7 separate regions of the Homo sapiens genome follow, and regions 1, 2, 3, 4, 6 and 7 are each linked to region 5. The links are contacts of gene promoters, found by promoter capture Hi-C in blood cells and fetal thymus (Javierre and others, 2016). All regions are on one chromosome and are shown on one strand. Each heading gives the region's core, a stretch centred on a gene start or on the middle of the fragment in contact. The rest is flanking DNA. Distances are from core to core; before and after follow the strand shown.

Region 1 (2,725 bases), core at 51-2,550, 690 kb after region 5:
CAGGGAAGTCCTTTCTATAAGTGAGTCACACAAAAAAAATACATACATGACATATTTAGACACAAATTATGCAGTTAAGTGTGTCTTGTAGATACCCTACTCAATTTAAAAACCATGTATTGATCATTTACAACATGCAAGTACAGTAATAAGGTAACATAGCTAAATTATCAGAGGTATCAAAGAAAAAGCACACAGTTGAAAAAGTGGTGAATTCTGGTTGTTGTTTGTTTGTTTCCTCAAGCTCTAAGATTGACACTTAGGATTTCTCAAAGACAACTGAAAATGTTTTCCTAATTCTGAAACAGTACTGACTTCAATGACCATCTCTTTTGAGGTATGAGGCACAGGAGGGAGGGGAACAGGGTTGAAAAACTAACTGTTGAGTACTATGCTCAGTACCTGGGTGATGGGATTACTTGTACCCCAACCCTCAGCATCACACAATATACCCTGGTAATAAACCTGCACATGGACTCCCCTGATTCTAAAATAAAAGTTGGAAAAAAATAAAAAAGGTATGAGTCACTCGTTTTGTGGCTACTTGCAGAAGTTTCAAAGATAATGATTTTCAAAGGTAACAAAGCTTGTGACACTGGTATGTCAGCATATCATCACATTTCATTTCTGAAGTCAGCAGTGAGAGATGGCGCCAAGCCACCAGTGAGAAGAGACGTTTGAAAAAAACAATTAAGAAGGAACTGAAGCTTGATGGATTAGCATAATGAATTTTTCTGAAGGCAACAGTGTGAAAAATATTTGTAAAGGTGTGGCAGAATCTGAAATCACGAATCATCTATTCTCACCCTGACAACAGTTTTCTTTTTCATATAGGCTGGACTAAATTTCGCGAAGTTCATTAATTTTCAAATGTAATTGTTTGCAATTTAAGCCAAAAGACATCTTAAAATCTGTTAAATTTTTTAACGTGGGACAGTGATATAAGAAGCCAAAAAGAAAGAAAAGTCAAACTGGGGGGGCCAAAAAAAATAATTACCAGGAAATAAGAAGTGTTCACAAATTTCAGAACGCTTTGTCTCACCAAAGAGCATAGTATTACAAAACTACAGTCTTCAAGAAAATAGTAACTATGTTAAGTACTGAAGCAGAAAATAAGTTATGCACACTTTTATCTTACTACCAGATTATTTTTCACAGATAGCACAAAACTTATTGATTGCTAACTATCCAAATGTATGGTAATAAACTAATATAGCTTAACTATCAAAGGTATCATATAGAACCATACAGTTGAAAAAAGGATGGATTCTGTCTTAGTCGTTAACACTGAGAATTTATCAAAGAGAACTGGAAATTAATTCTTTCTTTCTTTCTTTCAAAATTGGGTCCTGCTCTGTCACCCAGGCTAGAGTGCAGTGGTGAGACCATAGCTCACTGTAACCTCAAACTCCTGGGAGCTAGGACTATAGGCATGTGCCACCATGCCTGGCTAATTTTTTTTTTTTTTTTTTTTTTTTTGGAGAGACGAGGTCTTGCCGTGTAGCCTAGGCTGGTCTCGAACTCCTGGCCTCAAGCAATCCTCCCACCTCAGCCTCCCAGAGTTCTGGGTTTACAGGTGTGAGCCACTGTGCTTGTCCTGGAAATGTTTTTCCAATTCTCAAACAGTGTTGATATCAGTGACTACCTTTTTCAAGGCATGAGTTGCTAGTCTTATGGCTATTTAAGGAGGTTTCAAAGACAATGATTTTGGGGAATAAAAACTAGTGTTTTCTCCAAGCATTCGGAATTATTTATGGAAATAGAAGTATTATATTCATGTAAAATGATATGGTCTATAGATGTAACTTAGTTGCCTTAAACTGTGTAATTGCTGGTATACCATATTAGTGTCTTTAATCTGAACACAACCTCACATCCAAGAGGAAAAGCTTATCATTCACAACAGTAATTCCTGAGTGAGCTACTCCTCTCTAATTATACAATTAGAAAGTCAAAACAAACTTGAACCTTGCAATGTATATTCCCAGAACTCAAAACATATTTTTAAGAGAATTTTAACAGTAATCAACTCCTTTTCAAGACAAGATACAAAGTCAATAAAAGATTGCCTACTTTAATATTCATTTGTTTGTTTAAAAACATTAAGCACTAAGTCTAAGGGGCTGGTGGGACGACGGAAATGGGGCAAATTTTAAAGAAATGTAAGACACGCACTCTTTGCCCTTAAGGACAATCTGGTTAAGAAGAAAACAATTACCAAGTATATTTAACCCCACTTAAAGGTGTGAGCAAATAAAATTTTGTTAATCCATATATTTTAAATACTGTGCATTTAATAGCCAAGGTCAGGTGCTATCTCTTCTGTGAAGCCAATGGGAAAATATAATTTTAAAAAAAAATTTGTACAGCCACAATTTTGTTTGTAAAATTTCTCTTTGTCAAAAACTCAACTGTACACTTCTGGAACACCAGTTTCTATGCACCCAGTAGGCTCAGAAAGGAGTCCCCGTGGATATACATGTGTGCCGCGGCTGTGCAACATGGCCCCCGGCATGACACAACAGTGAAGCAGCTGGAAGGTGCTCAAATACTCAGACTGGCTGGGAAGTTGAAAGCAAGGGAAGAAGAGAGGGATGGGGAGAGAACAGCAGCTGTCAGGGAGCAGAGCACAGCCTAGAGAAAGCTGGGGTGCTTTGCACTGGCAGCTGAAAACTAAGGAGGCAGTGGGGGCATGAAGTAAGGAGGAGACAGAAAGGGGGACGGG
Region 2 (2,763 bases), core at 1-2,500, 550 kb after region 5:
ATTCAATACCACTGATACGAGGCAAGTACACATATGTTACTATGAGATAGCAGTGCTTGCTGTTAAGTTTGTCTCTTCTACCCATTCTGCCCTCCTCCCCCAGGCCACAATCTTAGCAGTCAGAGTCCTCTATGTGGTTGGATGGTGACCCAAACTTTCATTCCTGAAAAGTCTGCATACATCGTGGTCCTGTCTTCTTACCATTTCAATCTTGCAATACCTCCTTAAACAATTATTTATATTCTCTCTGATAAAGTAAATACTTTATCTCAGATAAACAGCTGCTTTCTTGATTGGACTTGGATAACTATGGTTTGTTTTTGCTTTTTTTTTTTTTTTTTTAATGAGACAAAGTCTCACTGTGTTGCCCATGCTAGTCTTGAACTGGGCTCAAGCAATCCTCCCACCTCAGTCTCTGAGTAGCTGGGATTATAGGCACATGCCGCAGTGCCCAACACTATGGTTTAATAAAGATAATCTGTCTAAATAAGCCACTTGTCTTTAATAAGGACATTGGTATTTATAGTAAAAAAAATTACAGAATTATTTTTAAAAATTATTAAATAGCACAGGGCACTATTTTTACCAAATAAATTTGCATGTACCTATTAATCAAAAAATTCTGTATGCATTCTTACAGATTCTAAAGTCATTACAGAATCCTGCTATTTAAGCAGGGTAGTGCCTAATTAGATTGGCAGAGCCAATTCGGCACCCATGTCAAAAAATATTACACGATAAAATCCTGTTTCCCCAAAGATGTTCTCTTATGATGCTAAAGGCCTAAAAGCTTTGCACCCTAATCTTGGTGCCCATGATGGCTTGATATTTTGCTTGGGAGTGAAGAAATAGCTTTGTTAGGGTCATCTTTATCAGGGAAGTAACTCGATTAAGGTTAAATAGGATGCATCTAATATTTCTCATCTATATTGCATTTTGAGAATGGGAATTAGGGAAAGAGCTTATTCATGGTTTATGAGCATGCAACTGAAACACAGTGATCCCTGGACTTCCTATCCTGGCACTGGCATTTACAAATTATGTACCTTTGGACAAGTTACTTCAACCCTTCTGAGTCTGTTTACTTACCTATACAATAAGGGATAGCTACCTTATATGAGGTAGTTGTGGTTAAACTAAGCTTGACAATGAAAATAATGATAATAATAGCCTTTAAATCACACCGGGCATTGTTCTGAGTAAATGATGGATGGATAGATAGGTAGGTAGGTGGGTAAATGTGTGGATGGATAGATAGATAGATTAGATAGATAGATAGATAGATAGATAGATAGATAGATACAGATAGGTAGGTAGACTCAGTACATATAACATGTATATGAACTCATTTAAGCTTAGCTACTACCCTACAGTTTATTTTCAACACAGAACCATAGTTATCCTTTTAAAATGTAAGTCTAATATATTAGATCAAATTGTAAGTCTAATTATATTTGATCAAAATTCTTTGATGTCTCTCCATTTCTCTTTTGATGTTACCTTGGTTAATATTCTTTAACAAGATGGTCTTCCTTACCTCCTTCAAGCCTTTGCACAGTTGTCACTTTTTCTTTGAGACCCACTCTGATTTTCCGCTTAAAATTTTACCTGCCAATCTCCCAACTCCCCTATCTGCTCCACTTTTTTTATTATTATTATACTTTAAGTTCTAGGGTACATGTGCAGAATGTGCAGGTTTGTTACGTAGTTATACGTGTGCCATGTTGGTTGGCTGCGCCCATTAACTCGTCATTTACATTAGGTATTTCCCCTAATTCTATCCCTCCCCCAGCCCTCTACCCCACAACAGGTGTGTGATGTTCCCCACCCTGTGTCCATGTGTTCTCATTGTTCAACTCCCACCTATGAGTGAGAACATGTGGTATTTGGTTTTATGTCCTCGTGATAGTTTGCTCAGAATGATGGTTTCCAGCTTCATCCATATCCCTGAAAAGGACATGAACTCATCCTTTTTTATGGCTGCATAGTATTCCCTGGTGTATATGTGCCACAGTTTCTTAATCCAGTCTATCATTGCTGGACATTTAGGTTGGTTCCAAGACTTTGCTATTGTGAATAGTGCCACAATAAACATACGTGTGCATATGTCTTTATAGTAGCATCATTTATAATCCTTTGGATGTATACCCAGTAAAGGGATCGCTGGGTCAAATGGTATTTCTAGTTCTAGATCCTTGAGGAATTGCCACACTGTCTTCCACAATGGTTGAACTAATTTACACTCCCACCAACAGTGTAAAAGCGTTCCTATTTCTCCACATCCTCTCCAGCATTTGTTGTTTCCTGACTTTTTAATGACCGCCATTCTAACTGGTGTGAGATGGTATCTCATTGTGGTTTTGATTTGCATTTCTCTGATGACCAGTGATGTTGAGCATTTTTTCATATGTCTGTTGGCTGCATAAACGTCTTCTTTTGAGAAGTCTGTTCATTTCCTTTGTCCACTTTTTGATGGGGTTGTTTTTTTCTTGTAAATTTGTTTAAGTTCTTTGTAGATTCTGGATATTAGCCCTTTGTCAGATGGGTAGATTGCAAAAATTTTCTCCCTTTCTGTAGGTTGCCTGTTCACCATGATGATAGTTTCTTTTGCTGTGCAGAAGCTCTTTAGTTTAATTAGATCCCATTTGTCAATTTTGGCTTTTGTTGCCATTGCTTTTGGTTTTTCAGTCATGAAGTCTTTGCCCATGCCTGTGTCCTGAATGGTATTGCCTAGGTTTTCCACTTTTTCTTTTTTTCACAGCA
Region 3 (2,700 bases), core at 3-2,502, 670 kb after region 5:
TGTGCTCGGAGTCAGCTTGCACTACTTATGCCTTTAAGGGAGGGGAGCTGCAAGTGAAGAAACAAAAATGGAGTCTGTCCGGCTCTCTCAGCTAAGAGAGACAATCAGGTTAAAACGAGGTAGGGTATCACATTACCTTCTTTATACAATTCAGATTATAGTCATTTTTTTAATGTGGGCATTTTTAATGGCATCACATAAGAACTCAGTGGCATGATAGCTGAAATTAGACTACCGTGTCAACGGCTTAGCCCACAAAGAAGGATGTGATTATTTTAATAATCAACTTATAATTAATGTCTAGTTTATATATGTCCATCACTGAACTCGATATTTTATAAGATAAAAAAGAAACTCAAAATCTCCCTCCTACTTCAAAAAGCTCACATTTCAGCAGAGAAGAAGAGCTAAAACACAAAGAAGACAGCAAGCAATAAAAAGCTGTTAATAGTAAAGACTTGATTTCACAATCTGCATCAGAAGTGACATAGGAATCAGACATGTGTGTTTACAGGACATTTAGGACAGGGGCCAAAAAAGAGTCTTGGGAAATAAGATTGGCTATGTGATATGGCAATCTGATTTCCTGAAACCTTGAAAGCCCCAAAGAGAAGAGATCCTCAGGCACTTGTTCCCCTGCCAAATCTAGCCACATCTTTAGCCAAAACCTGCCACTTCGCCAAGCTGGTGTTTCTTTTCCCCAGTCTCCACTGCTAAGATCTTTCATCCCGTTGGTGGTCATAGCCCTATTCTTTCATTTCTACAGTATCCCTGAGGCCACATGGCTTTGTCTTGTCTTGTTTGGGATGATGAAACCTGTTAAGATTGGGTAGGAGGTGGTACGGGCCCCAGGAAGAACCAGGCATAGCACCAACCCAGGCTGGCTAAGGGCTTTCTCAATCAAGGAATTTAATATGCCCATATCACAAATTAGAGAATCAACTCTACAAGCCAGTCCTCAAGGAAAGAACACGGGACGTGGCATAAAAAGCCAAATGTAAAGTTATAAAAGGACAAATCTGAACATGTATCTTCCAATATAAAACCAATTAAGAATTGTGTGAGCATATCAAACCTATCATCAAAACATGTAGTTTTTCATCTTCTGGGCACATTGAATAAAACTTAAAATGAACCTCTGGGTACATTATGACTTCTGCTTAAATAGCTAACCACAGAATAAGGTTAATAGCTAACCACAGAATAAACATTAAACCACTACTCAAAGAAAAAGAGCAATGTTAAGTTGCTTAAGTCAAAGCTGTTTTCCACCATCAAATCATTACAATAAATAAAACCCTGAATGCTTCTTCTCTGCTGAAATACTAAAAGTCTGAACCAGCTCATCCAACTGGATTCATAGCTCAAGAGCAGAAATGGAAATCTGCCGTAAGCAGCCTGCAGAACCTAAGCCATCCCGGCCACATCAGCGAAGCCTCTCTCTGTGGGTCTTCTCAAGTCTAACCTTCTAGCTGTGGATTTTGGCCACCTGAGACCTATGTTCATGGCTAGTACTATTTTCATGTCAAGGCAAAAGTATAAGGCTACTCTGAAAGTCATCTCGAGGTGAAAACCCTCATCTGTTCTTCCTTGTCATGCGTTAAGATGCTGCGTTTGTACTGAATGATTGTTTACAAATATAGAAAAGGCCCAATCATAGACACCAGAACACTGAGACACAATAGAATGTGTTGTTAAGGGCATGTTCAATTTTGAAAACTGAAACTATTCAACCATTTTGGATCATAAAACGTATTTACAGTGCTGAATAAAAAGTTAAGGACATGGTGTTCATACATTATTACTTGCCTTAAAATTATTTTAAAACTCTACAATAGGAATATGTTTATTGTGAGACCCTAAAGTTCAGCTCTCCAGGCAATTTTTTTGCTTTGTTTTGTTACAGGGTCTCGCTCTGTTGCCCAGGCTGGAGTGTAGTGGTGCCATCTCGATTCACCTGCAGCCTCAACTTCCTGGGCTCAAGCAATCCTCCCACCTCAGCCTCCTGAGTAGCTGCAGGCAACCATGCCCAGCTAATTTTGTTTATTTTTTGTAGAGATGGAGTTTCACTATGTTGCCCAGGCTGGTCTCAAACTCCTGGGCTCAAGCAATCCTCCCACCTCGGCCTTCCAAAGGGCTGGGGTTATAGGCATGAACGACTGCATTCAGCCTCAACTTTTGAATGAGAGGAACACATTTCTTTTTTCTAAGAGTGGATTTACTGTAAGAAGGGAGAGCTCATGCCCACATGCACATGGGCTTTCTTTTTTGTTTGTTTGTTTTTTTTGAGACAGAGTCTCTCGCTTGTCGCCCAGGCTGGAGTGCAGCGGCGCGATCTCGCCTCCACCTCCCAGGTTCAAGCGATTCTCCTGCCTCAGCCTCCTGAGTAGCTGGGATTACAGGCACGCGCCACCAAGCCCAGCTAATTTTTGTATTTTTAGTAGAGACGGGGTTTCACCATGTTGGCCAGGCTGGTCTCGAACTCCTGACCTTGGGATCCGCCCACCTCGGCCTCCCAAAGTGCTGGGATTACAGGCGTGAGCCACCGCACCCAGCCTCGCACATGGGTTTTCACCCGTTGACTTTTAATCCAGAGATTCACAGGGTTGTTTTTTCTTTCTCACCTCAGGGAAGTATACACAAGAATGATGAGAATGGTCGACGTGGCATCCATCCTCACAGAGATGACAAACAAGAAAC
Region 4 (2,951 bases), core at 308-2,807, 600 kb after region 5:
AAATCCAGATTTCTTTAACATAGAAAAAAGATACTAAAACAGATGTTTGACAGATTAAGAAGATATAAAATCACACTGAAGTCTGGAGCCTCCTTTGACTTTTGGTAATTAACATTTTTCACAATCTTCCCTATTTAGATTATTTCTGCGACCATCTGCAATGCCAGCATTGTTCTACAAAATGACAATGCCAGACTGACCGCTGATGACTTCAGGCTGAAGTAGGTGAAAACAAACTGATTAATTATATTAATAAAAGTTAAAATATTACAATTGGATTAAGGAATATATATTTTGCTTTGAAAACCAAAATGTTTTTCTAAAGCCAGACTAGATCAATAAAGAAATTGAATTAAATAAGCCGTTATAAAAAGAGCTATCATGGTTGGATAGAGTAGCTCATGCCTGTAATCCCAGCACCTTGGGAGGCTGAGGCAGGCAGATCACTTGAGGTCAGGAGTTTGAGACCAGCCTGGCCAATGTGGCAAGACCCCGTCTCTACTAAAAGTACACACACAAAAAAATAGTCAGGCATGGTGGCTCACTCCTGTAATCCCAGCTACTTGGGAGGCTGAGACATGAGAATCACTTGAACCCGGAAGGTGGAGGTTGCAGTGAGCTGAGATGGGGCCACTGCACTTCAGTCTGGGTGACAGAGTGAGACTGTCTCAAAAACAAACAACAAAAAAGAGCAATCACATATTTTTTAAAATCTAAAATCTAGCAATATTTTATTTAATTGTTAAGCACATTGGATGACAAAAATCAGCTCTGAAGAAATAACATCCCCAAAATACAATTCATGAATTGTTAGGTATCTCAAACCATTTTAGCAGTTTGCCATTGCAAGAAGCTTCAGAGGTATGTACAGAACATCATATCTTTCAGCATATGAAATACCTTAAAAAGTTGTGCTTTGCACCTGCCTACGATGACAACTCTCAGGTGCCTTACTAATCTTTCAGGTATGAAAATGAGCTGGCTCTGCACCACAGTGTTGAGGCCGACACCAGTGGTCTTCGCAGAGTGTTGGATGAACTGACCCTTTGTACAACCGACCTGGAGATACAGTGTGAGACCCTCAGTGAGGAATTGACCTACCTCAAAAAAAGTCATGAGGAGGTAAGGAAGCCTGCAGAGTGGCTTCATACAGTTTCTAATTTCCTTCTTGAAGTCCACTGTTCATTTCGTAGCAGGGCATGAACATCAATCAAAATCCTCCACTGAGGATGAATACCGATCCCTTTTCTAGGAAATGGAAGTCTTGCAATATACAGCTGGGGGGAACGTGAACGTGGAGATGAATGCAACCCCAGGAGTGGACCTAACTGTCCTGTTGAACAACATGAGGGCTGAGTATGAGGACTTGGCTGAGCAGAACCGCAAAGATGCTGAAGCCTGGTTCAACGAGAGGGTAGGTCTATGGCAAATTACAAAGGGCTTGCTCAGGAGACAATCAGGCCAGTCACTAACCCTTTCGACAATTACACTTCAGAGTGCAACGCTGCAACAACAGATTTCCGATCATGAGGGAGCAGCCACAGCAGCCAGAAATGAGCTGACCGAATTAAAACGCAATCTGCAAACCCTGGAAATAGAACTTCAGTCCCTCATGGCTGTGGTACGTAGGAATCGCCATTGAATTGAATATATGTGTGAATATGTATAAGTCAATACAGATATAAAAATACATATAACACCAAGTACGTATAACCATTTACATATGACTAAAAGTATAAAATATATTAAATATCAAGAATTCTGTCCCTAAACTCACCAATTCCAAAACTTGAAAAATGCCTTTTTACAATAGAGGAATTTTTTTAAATCTTGCAAATGTTGATTTTCAATTGAAAATATTCAGACCTTATACAAATAATTATTTCTACCTTGAGAATATTTAAAATATGACCATGCCGGCCAAGCACAGTGGCTCACACCTGTAATCCCAGCACTTTGGGAGGCCACGGCAGGTGGATAACTTGAGGTCAGAAATTCAAGACCAGCCAGGCCAACATGGTGAAACCCCATCTCTACTAAAAATATAAAAATTAGCTGGGTGTGGTGGCATGTACCTGTAATCCCACATACTCAGGAGGCTGAGGCAGGAGAATCACTTGAACACAGGAAGAGAGGCTGCAGTGAGCCAAGATCATGCCACTGCACTCAGCCTGGGTGACAGAGCAAGACACAGTCTCAAAAAAATAAATAAAATAATATAAGATGACCATGCCATTTCTCTTTTACACATTCAAGCTTCACTTTGCTTTTCTTTCAGAAACATTCCTATGAATGCTCCTTGGCTGAGACTGAAGGAAATTACTGCAATCAACTCCAGCAAATTCAGGATCAGATAGGGGTGATGGAGGAACAACTGCAACAGATTCGAACAGAAACAGAAGGCCAGAAGCTGGAGTATGAACAGCTTCTTGATGTAAAAATATTTTTAGAAAAAGAAATTGACATTTATTGCAACTTACTAGATGGAGAAGAAAGGTAAAGATTAACTTGCAAAAAAAAAAAAAAACCTCACATTAACTAGGTTTTCCCACAGTATAGGTATGCCAATATTGCATCCTAGAATTTCCTACTCTGGAGATCATACATATTTATCCTCAGGAATGTATATTATTGCAGCCAAGTGAAATTAAAACATGCAGAAATTTGAAAATCAAATTTCTAAGTATGCAAAATATTTGTATGTATAATATATAAAGGACATTTAAATATAGAATATTTAACAATTCCAGTACTCCAATTCAAGGGGAAAATTGCTTTCTGTGATTTAGTGTGTAAGCACATTTCTTATAAATAACTCATTCTCTTTTCTTATCACTTCACTAGTTACCCCACATGTACCTTGTATTAAAGATGAGCAATGAAGATATAGGAAGAATTAATTGGAGAGGCACCATAGTTTCTTAGTCAATAGCAACAGCCCTGGAATTGCA
Region 5 (3,006 bases), core at 193-2,692:
GGGTGATCTGAGGAATGGCAGGTCACCTGTAGGAAAAGAATTCTTGTATGGCAAGACTTAATATGTAGCTTCCAAAAGGAACAACTTGGAGGAGTATCTTTCAGAATTTGAGCACTGATAGATTAAACATAAAATCCTCATATTTCATAGTTCCATCTGGAATGCATGAGAGTAGAGCATCTGCTTGCCAAAATGTGCCAATGGTCATAAAATGCCACTTCATGCACATGACATAGTGGTGGATTTTCAGGGTCATATCCTTTGGAGAGCTAGGCTTGGGTATTTCTCCCTCAGATCAACCAAGGGTTTCCTTTTTTTTTTTTTTTCAAGCTTCTAGTGGGTATGAGGCATTTTCACTTAGTAAACTTCCTTCCTTCAGCATAGAAGTGACTTTTGGTTCTTTAATAAGTAAAAAACAGGCTTGTTATTTTTTGGCCCATTCTAATTTAGGATATTGTCAGCACTGATTGAGCTCAATGGAGCTCAATCTGTATTTTTTGCATTATTGCATCTCAGTACTGAAAAGATTGGAAGAGAGAGACATGTAATATGACAGAGTGTGGACATTGGAATTAGAGAGATCTGTATTTGAACCCTGGCTCCATCATGTAGGAGCTCTGTGACCTTGGGAGACCTCTCAGAGGCTTAGGGTCCTTATCTACAAACCCTTGCAGCATTTTGAGAGGACTGAAGGAGCTGGTGCATATGAGGTGCCTGGCACTGTGCCTGGTGCACAGTGGAGGCTCAGCAAGCAGGACCCATCACCAATGACAGAGTCACGCTGTGCACAGGCATGGAGCACAGTGCTTCATGCAGAGTAGGTGCTCCCAAAATTTAGGTTTCTTAATGTTCTGTGAACACTGAATACTAGTAGAAACGGAGGTGGGTGGCTTCCTGCAGCCCCATAGGAAGAGGGTAGAGTTGCCTCCATCTGCCTGGATGGAACTGCAAATGGGCCTTGAACCAATGGCCTTGTAAGTCCTTTCTCATTTCAGCTTCCAGGATTCCCTATCACATAGTCTAGTTTCTAGACGGGTTTCCTTACATGGCTTTTCTCACAGAGTCTTAATTGAATATGAACTGGATGAGACACAAGCCTTTCCTCATTTAGGAGAAAGAGGCACATATGTGCCCCCTACTCTGGGGACAGGGCCCAGCTGTCACTCTAGCTCAATGTCCCATGGATAAGCACTGCTACAGGCAAGGTTGGTCACTTTGAAGCCAAACCATGAAGCTCTTACTTAACCAATCAGCATGTTTTGTGAGGAGTCCTGACTTAGCAAGAAGCCAGAGTAAAACATTTAATGAGGTATAGGACTCAGGTGAAGTGGCTAAATAACAAATGGAAAAATCAGCAAAGGAGGTAAAAAGGAGGAATACTTGACATGGTTGCCACACCCACTGCTAACAGAATATAAAGCCCTGGAAAGGACCAAGGCTTATCCCAGGGAAAAGGAATCAGGTTTTGAAACTGACTTCCAGAGCTCCACTGCCTCCCTGCACCATGCCCTACAACTTCTGCCTGCCCAGCCTGAGCTGCCGCACCAGCTGCTCCTCCCGGCCCTGTGTGCCCCCCAGCTGCCACGGCTACACCCTGCCCGGGGCCTGCAACATCCCTGCCAATGTGAGCAACTGCAACTGGTTCTGCGAGGGCTCCTTCAATGGCAGCGAGAAGGAGACTATGCAGTTCCTGAACGACCGCCTGGCCAGCTACCTGGAGAAGGTGCGTCAGCTGGAGCGGGACAACGCGGAGCTGGAGAACCTCATCCGGGAGCGGTCTCAGCAGCAGGAGCCCTTGCTGTGCCCCAGCTACCAGTCCTACTTCAAGACCATTGAGGAGCTCCAGCAGAAGGTGAGGAGGTGGGCACCACACTGCCAGCTTAATGAACTACTTATCTATATTTGACATACTAAACTGTGAATGGATCTAAGTCTGTTCACAGTAATGCTGAGAATGATAAAGACATAGATTCACTGGCTTAGGTATGACATCAAGTAGTCTTAGAAAATCTGTTGTAGAGCCACAAAGGAAGGATGCAGGCTGGTGTTAGAGTGAAGCATTAGACCAAAATCAGTCATAGCAATCTTATATGGCGTCTTACTCCAAACCAGAATATCTGATTTTTTGGTTTGATTATGATACCCTGGTTTTGTTTTCAGAGCATTACCGCATTTTCAAAAAGTATGCACCTGAATTATTTTCTATGCTAAGAATTTCCTAAGTAAATCTTCAAATATTTAAAGCCTTTCAAAGCTGTAGCAAAATATAGCATTTATGGCAACACAAGAGAGCTGTTGACTCCAGCAATATCTACAGACACATGGACCATCCTCTAGAGCAGCCATGTGTACAGATGACAATATGGGGCCATCTGTTCTGGAAGAGAAGTAGATATAAGTAAAGAGTCCACAGAGAATTGGGACTGAATACCTGGTGTAGGTTTGGGAGGGATCCCAGAAGAGGCAATGTCTGAGTGGGGTTTGAAGGATGAGTGGGAGTTTATATCCAATTGTACAAGCCCTTGATTCTGGGAGGGAATTGACTGCCCACTGTTCTGTAGATCTGGAAAATTAGATGCCAGAAAGGGGTTGTGCTATTTGAATATCATTCATTTATTTACCCAGAGTTGGAGAGTGTTAGGCACAGTGCTGGGGTGGGGGATAATGTACTGAGTAAGACAGTCTCCTTCCTTCAGGAGCTCACAGTCTAACAGGGGAGATAGATGTGGAAACAAAATGATCACACAAAGGTCATAAGAAGTGTTATTGATTAAGTATGTGGGTTACACAAGGGGTCTTGCTAGTGGGTGAGGGCATTCTGGGTACAGCAAGAAGCTTTTTGCAAAGGCATGAACAAGGGCAATATGAGGGGAGAGTGGAGAGAAGTTAGCAGGTGGAATGTGTTGGATAACCAAGTTGTTCTGGCTTGCCTGGGATTTTTCCCATTTTAGCATCCCAGAAACCCCTCAGTCCTAAGTTAACTGGGATGGTTGGTCACCCAACCGA
Region 6 (2,700 bases), core at 180-2,679, 620 kb after region 5:
TTTCTGTCAAATACTGCAAAGTAGAAACAATAATTATTATACAACAAGCTTTGAAAATGCCTCTTGTGGCCAAATCTTCAAAATTCCAGAATGCTAGCATTTGTCATTGATCAGTGACTAGTGACTATGTCTCCAACCATGTGACAAATTAGGAAATCATTAACACTCTTTAAGGTATGAAAATGAGCTGGCTCTTCACCAGAGTGTAGAGGCTGATGTCAATGGGTTACGAAGAGTTTTGGATGAAATAACCCTGTGCAGAACAGATCTGGAGATTCAGTATGAAACCCTGAGTGAGGAGATGACTTACCTCAAAAAGAACCATAAAGAGGTAAGAGCTGGTCGTCTACATTTTGCTATCCCTCCGCAGACACTGTGCACCTGACAGGAGATAATGTACATAACCTCTCATATAAAAAGTTGGTGCTGAAGACACATTGTCAGACAGACATGAGGGCTGAGCTGTCTTTTTTTTTTTTTTTTTTTTTTTTTTTTTTTTTTTTTTTTGAGACGGAGTCTCGCTCTGCCGTCCAGGCTGAAGTGCAATGGTGCGATCTTGGCTCACTGCAAGCTCCGCCTCCTGGGTTCACGGCATTCTCCTGCCTCAGCCTCCCGAGTAGCTGGGACTACAGGCGCCCGGCTAATTTTATGTATTTTTAGTAGAGACGGGGTTTCACTGTGTAAGCCAGGATGGTCTCGATCTCCTGACCTCGTGATCCACCTGCCTCAGCCTCCCAAAGTGCTGGGATTACAGGCGTGAGCCACCGCACCCGGCCTGAGCTGTCTTTTTAAGTGTCAGATTCTTTGTACAGATTCACCCTTGCTCTCTCATCAAGTTTCCTATGGGGAAAAAAAAAAACGAATCATGTTTTCCAGACCAATCAGGGTTATAAGAGCAGTGTTTGGCTGTGTAATTATAACTAAGTTAAAATGATCCGCTTTGGACATTAAGTCTAATTAGATAAAATAAATATAAAATAAATATACTTTAAGGCCATCCTTAAACTAGAAAACTAGATCTCAATTTCTAAATGACAGTGGCAGATTTAAAACACTAAAACATTTACTTCATACACACATTAAGTATACATACTTAACGCTAGTACATATTCTTAATAGGTCTGGCTGTAAAAATAATGAGCATGAAGTTAAACTATTATACCAGAATTTACACTTAATCATAAACTTCCAAAGTGGTCACTGTTGGAAGCTAAGTTCCAAATTTTATATTGCAGCAATTACATCTTTAGGATTGCTTTCAGAGGCACTGTTTTCCAAAAGGGAAAAATCTTTATCCTTTGAAAATAAATTTGATATTTTAAATAGCCAAAAGACTTCTATGGTCAAGCCAAATGCTTAAAACAGAAGATCAAGCTAAGAATCCTACTTGATTAGTCATGAGGCTGTCTTATAAATATAACTACTTGAATAACATTGATTTGACTACGTGGATTCAAATATAGTTACAGCCCATGGTGTTTAATCAATTTTTGATGAATCAAAAGCAATTGATTTTTGTAATGCCTCATTTACAGGCAACCCTAGATATAGATATAGATATAGATATATAGATATAGATGATATACATATATCTTTTTTTATCTTTTTCTTTTTATGCTTGAACCAGGAAGTTTTCACTAAATCCTCAGAAGTAAAAGCCACATCTGTAGATCAGGAAGACATAGTTTCAACCAGGAGGAAAGAAGGCTGGAATGGCTGAGGGGCTCGCTGCAGGGAGGAATGAAAGCCTTAGTTACCATCATTAAGACCAATTCATGAATGGGGAGGAGAGTTTCTGCAGCAGACATAAGCTGATGGGTGGTATTCCAATATACACAGTCTTCGCAGCGATGCCTACCATTCACAATCTTAGAACTGACTCACACATTCTAACAGCTTGCAGTTCAGACAGGGTAACATGTAGACTTTGACTGCAAAATAAATTCCAGCTTCCATGATGATAATAATCATAATAACCAGCATTCATTTAGCATTTATGTGCAAGGCAGTATCACGGAGTCTTATTATTATTATTAGTTCTTTGACTTCTTTTAACAACTCAGAGAAGGGTTTTTAATTATCCTCAATTTTCAGATAAGCAAATAGAAACGTAAAAAGGTTAAGCAACTTTCCCAAACTCACTAGCCACTATAGGGCAGAACCAAAATTCAGAGAGATCTGCGTGACTCCAAAGTCCAACATGATACTGTAATGTCCCTGTATAGACTTAATAGACAGCTGGGATTCTTTAGGGGATGATGTTCTTCCCTGAGGGGTACACACACACACACACACACACACACACACGCACGCACACACACACACACACACATACATTTATTTATTTATCATCATTTCAATTGTTCAGAATTATTCATACTCAACCCTTCAACCATGTTCATGGCTGTGCTCAGGGTGTAGCTGAGTTAACACTGCACCAAAGCTGGCCTCTAGTGGAAGGAAGACCAGTCCACAAAGGCCGAGAATAGAATAAGCGATGGAGGACCATTCATTTTAAATGTTTAAAACTTTCATATGGAAAAGGAATTAAGATGCATTCTGAGTAGTAGAACTGAAACTGATGAGTTTAAGTTATAAGAGCAGGAGTTTGGCTCACTATAATAAAGAACTCTGGAACAATTAAAACTCTCCCAGAATGAAACAGGCTACTTCATAAGGTAGTGAGTTCACCGTCTTTGA
Region 7 (2,956 bases), core at 88-2,587, 630 kb after region 5:
GTCCTATGAGGATTCAGACTACAGCTGAGTGGTTCCAGCCTCAGTGAGCAGGTCAGAGCACCATGGCTTGGACCTTTTCCTCTAATTCATTTTATTAATGCATCAAAGGAATATATCAAGCTAAAGAAAATGTAGTCCCTTACTTGTCAGAGAAGGCAACACTGAAGAGTGGTTAAGGGAACAAGCCTCGAATTTTCTGGATTTAAAACTATTTCTACCCCTTTCTAGCTGTGTTTTCTTGGGCAAGTTATCTGATTACCTTGTCTCTCAATTTCCTCACCTGTAAAATGGTGATAATAATATTAACACCTATTCAGAGAGTTGGTGTGATGATTAAATATCTAATCTATGCGCTTTGGAGAGTGTCTGGTTCATATTAAACCCTCAATCAATGTAGCTACTACGGTGAAAAGGAAATAAAAATTTAAAAATTAATTGTATGTTATCAGAGAAGTTTAAAGATAAAAGAGAGCTTAGAGACTAGTCCGTGTCATTTCCCCTTGAGGAAACTAATGCCCCATGAGAAGTGGTTGATTCAGAGGCATTTCTAGTAAGAAGAATGAGAGATTTCATCTTATCAATTCTCTTACTTATTTATTTATTTTTGTAGAGATGGGGTCTCCCTATGTTGCCTTGTCTAGTCTCAAATCTCTGGGCTCAAGCAATCCTCCCTCCTTAACCTCCCAAAGTGCTGGGACAGGCATGAGCCACCACGCCCAGCCTTATCAATCCTCTTAAAGGTGAATGACAATTCTCCCTACTTTACCATAAGACTCAGACAATGAGTTGAATAAATTAGCCAATTAAAACAAAAATATTCAGGAGAAAATGACCTAGTTCCAATGACTGTGTTGCCAAAATGGCAAGTCTACAAAGAACATACAGAGAGCACTGTTCCTAATCCTGTCCTCTGTGATACTTATACCTGCAGGAACACGGCACTCATTGCAGCCTAAACCTTCCTGCTCAGATGGGAGGTTCTATGTGGCAAGGTGGTTAACATGCCTGAACTAGTGTCAAAGGTAGGAAGTAATTGAAAGCTTTCCAAAAAGGGAAGAAAAATGTAACCACATTGGTTCTTGAGGGCATTCTGCTTAATATGGAAAGAGGTATATTTATATACCTAAGAGAGCATGGCTATAATTTGTAAATTACCTAGAGGATTTAGTAACTGAAACATAACCAGAAGTCCTCACTCTCCACCAGTTTACAGGGATCCATGAAGTCTTCTTAACATTGATGCACTAATTTAATTTTTCTAGTTATTTAGTTGCCACCTATAAAAAACTACATACAAAACCTCTGGCTACCAGTCTTTTCCACTATAATTTAATGCTCTGCACTAGGCCACTGATACTCTCAAGTCTCATGATATGCTACAATTACTTGGAAGTTTCTATCCAAAAAGGGAGAAAAGAAACACCCTTCTACTTTTTCTGAGCTCCATTCTATAGGGGTATGTTGGGGCCCCCAAGACCATCCTCAATTTCAATGGTTCACTAGAAGGACTCACAGATCTCAGAAAAATGTTATACTCATGGTTATGGTTTATTACAGTAAAAGGATACACATTAAAATCAGCAAAGGCAAAAGGCACATAGGGCCATGTCCAGGAGAGACGAGGCATAAGCTTCCAATTGTTCTTTCACATGGAGTCACAAAAAACAGCACTTAATTCTCCCAGAAATGATGTGTGACAATGCATACATAGTAATGTCAACCAGAGAAGCTTGCCCAAACCTTGGTGTCCAGAGTTTTTATTGGGGGTCAGTCACTTAGGTATGGGACGCCCACATGGTTCACCTCAGTTACTCAGTCTGCAGCCCCTCCAGAAGTCAAACTGATACAGCGTAGCCCAAGAACGCCACTATAAGTCACACTGTTAGCATAAACTCTCTGCCGTGGCCTAAAGCCCCAGGTATACAAAGACACTCCTATCAGGCAGAATATTCCAAAGCTGAGAGCTTTTTCCCCAAGAGCTGGGTAAGGGCTACGCCTTTCTTTGGTATGTGCAAGATCTAAACACCCCAAGCCTGCTGAGTTAACCCTTTCCTGCAGAAGAGGTCTCCTGTGCAGAGCCCCAAGATAGTACGGAGTTTCACTTCAGCACATTCATCCCCTACAAGTCCTACCCCCAACTGCCAGCATGCATGAGCACCCCACACTCAAGCCCTCCATACCCTTGGACATCTAGGCTCTGTCGTCACATACAGCTCATAATGGAGTCCATCCTTCCTTAAAATGAGTTCTCTTGGGCTGGGCATGGTGGCTCATGCCTGTAATTCCAGCACTTTGGGAGGCTGAGGCAGGCAGATCACCTGAAGTCAGGAGTTCGAGACCAGCCTGGCAAGCATAGTGAAAACCCATCTCCACTAAAAATACAAAAATTAGTTGGCGCAGTGGCAGGCACCTGTAATCCCAGCTACTCAGGAGGCTGAGGCAGGAGAAATGGCTGAACCCAGGAGACAGAGGTTGCAGTGAGCCGAGATCATGCCACTGCACTCCAGCCTGGGTAACAGAGCAGGACCCAGTCAAAAAAAAAAAAAAAAAAAAAAAAAAAGCTGCACACAGTGGCTCATGCCGGTAATCCCACCACTTTGGGAGGCCGAGGAGGGCAGATCACGAGGTCAGGAGTTCAAGACCAGCCTGGCCAACACAGTGAAACCCCGTCTCTACTGAAAATACAAAAATTAGCTGGGCCTTGTGGTGGGCACCTATAATCCCAGCTACTGGGGAGACTGAGGCAGGAGAATCGCTTGAACCCAGGAGGCGGAGGCTGCAGTGAGCCAAGATTGCGCCACCGTACTCCAGCCTGGGTGACAGAGCAAGACTCCATCTCAAAAAAAAAAGAGTTCTCTGTTAGAGACCGTCTTTAATATTTAGCATCTGCTGAGTTCCTGCCAATCTTCGGCACATGCATGTATGCAAAGCCTAATTGCAGAAAAGACTTGAGATC

What was found. Contacts are between HindIII fragments. The CHiCAGO score rates a contact against its expected background, and 5 or more counts as called.
Region 1: a fragment that was not itself captured here is called in contact with the fragment with the promoter of KRT33B in region 5 in 1 of 17 cell types (endothelial precursors); the score reaches 5.3 in endothelial precursors.
Region 2: a fragment that was not itself captured here is called in contact with the fragment with the promoter of KRT33B in region 5 in 1 of 17 cell types (M0 macrophages); the score reaches 5.7 in M0 macrophages.
Region 3: a fragment that was not itself captured here is called in contact with the fragment with the promoter of KRT33B in region 5 in 2 of 17 cell types (M1 macrophages and erythroblasts); the score reaches 5.5 in M1 macrophages.
Region 4: a contact is called between a fragment that was not itself captured here and the fragment with the promoter of KRT33B in region 5, in 1 of 17 cell types (M2 macrophages). The highest score is 5.4, in M2 macrophages.
Region 6: a fragment that was not itself captured here is called in contact with the fragment with the promoter of KRT33B in region 5 in 1 of 17 cell types (erythroblasts); the score reaches 5.9 in erythroblasts.
Region 7: a contact is called between a fragment that was not itself captured here and the fragment with the promoter of KRT33B in region 5, in 1 of 17 cell types (erythroblasts). The highest score is 5.8, in erythroblasts.

The regions. Positions count from the first base shown.
Region 1 is chr17:40,677,011-40,679,735 of GRCh38, reverse strand. All of the region lies in intron 1 of LOC105371775 (a long non-coding RNA gene), which reads right to left. Among named protein-coding and RNA genes, the nearest start is that of KRT222, 13 kb to the right of the region's middle. The HindIII fragment of the contact is 1,182 bases long and covers 710-1,891 here.
Region 2 is chr17:40,814,071-40,816,833 of GRCh38, reverse strand. It overlaps LOC105371776 (a long non-coding RNA gene), which reads right to left. Exons shown (of 4, transcript XR_934753.2): 4 at 2,706-2,763. Among named protein-coding and RNA genes, the nearest start is that of KRT10-AS1, 3.7 kb to the left of the region's middle. The HindIII fragment of the contact is 213 bases long and covers 1,144-1,356 here.
Region 3 is chr17:40,694,803-40,697,502 of GRCh38, reverse strand. LOC105371775 (a long non-coding RNA gene) reads right to left here. Exons shown (of 4, transcript XR_934751.2): 4 at 1-47. Among named protein-coding and RNA genes, the nearest start is that of KRT24, 7.6 kb to the left of the region's middle. The HindIII fragment of the contact is 3,749 bases long and covers 1-2,700 here.
Region 4 is chr17:40,768,424-40,771,374 of GRCh38, reverse strand. It overlaps KRT26 (keratin 26), which reads left to right. Exons shown (of 8, transcript NM_181539.5): 2 at 139-221; 3 at 966-1,122; 4 at 1,253-1,414; 5 at 1,496-1,621; 6 at 2,279-2,496. Among named protein-coding and RNA genes, the nearest start is that of KRT26, 2.3 kb to the left of the region's middle. The HindIII fragment of the contact is 1,403 bases long and covers 856-2,258 here.
Region 5 is chr17:41,368,249-41,371,254 of GRCh38, reverse strand. KRT33B (keratin 33B) reads left to right here and starts at 1,442. Exons shown (of 7, transcript NM_002279.5): 1 at 1,442-1,852. The coding sequence starts at 1,505. The HindIII fragment of the contact is 2,505 bases long and covers 333-2,837 here.
Region 6 is chr17:40,751,491-40,754,190 of GRCh38, reverse strand. It overlaps KRT25 (keratin 25), which reads left to right. Exons shown (of 8, transcript NM_181534.4): 3 at 175-331. Among named protein-coding and RNA genes, the nearest start is that of KRT25, 2.5 kb to the left of the region's middle. The HindIII fragment of the contact is 2,758 bases long and covers 51-2,700 here.
Region 7 is chr17:40,733,236-40,736,191 of GRCh38, reverse strand. No RefSeq gene overlaps it. Among named protein-coding and RNA genes, the nearest start is that of KRT25, 21 kb to the left of the region's middle. The HindIII fragment of the contact is 590 bases long and covers 1,043-1,632 here.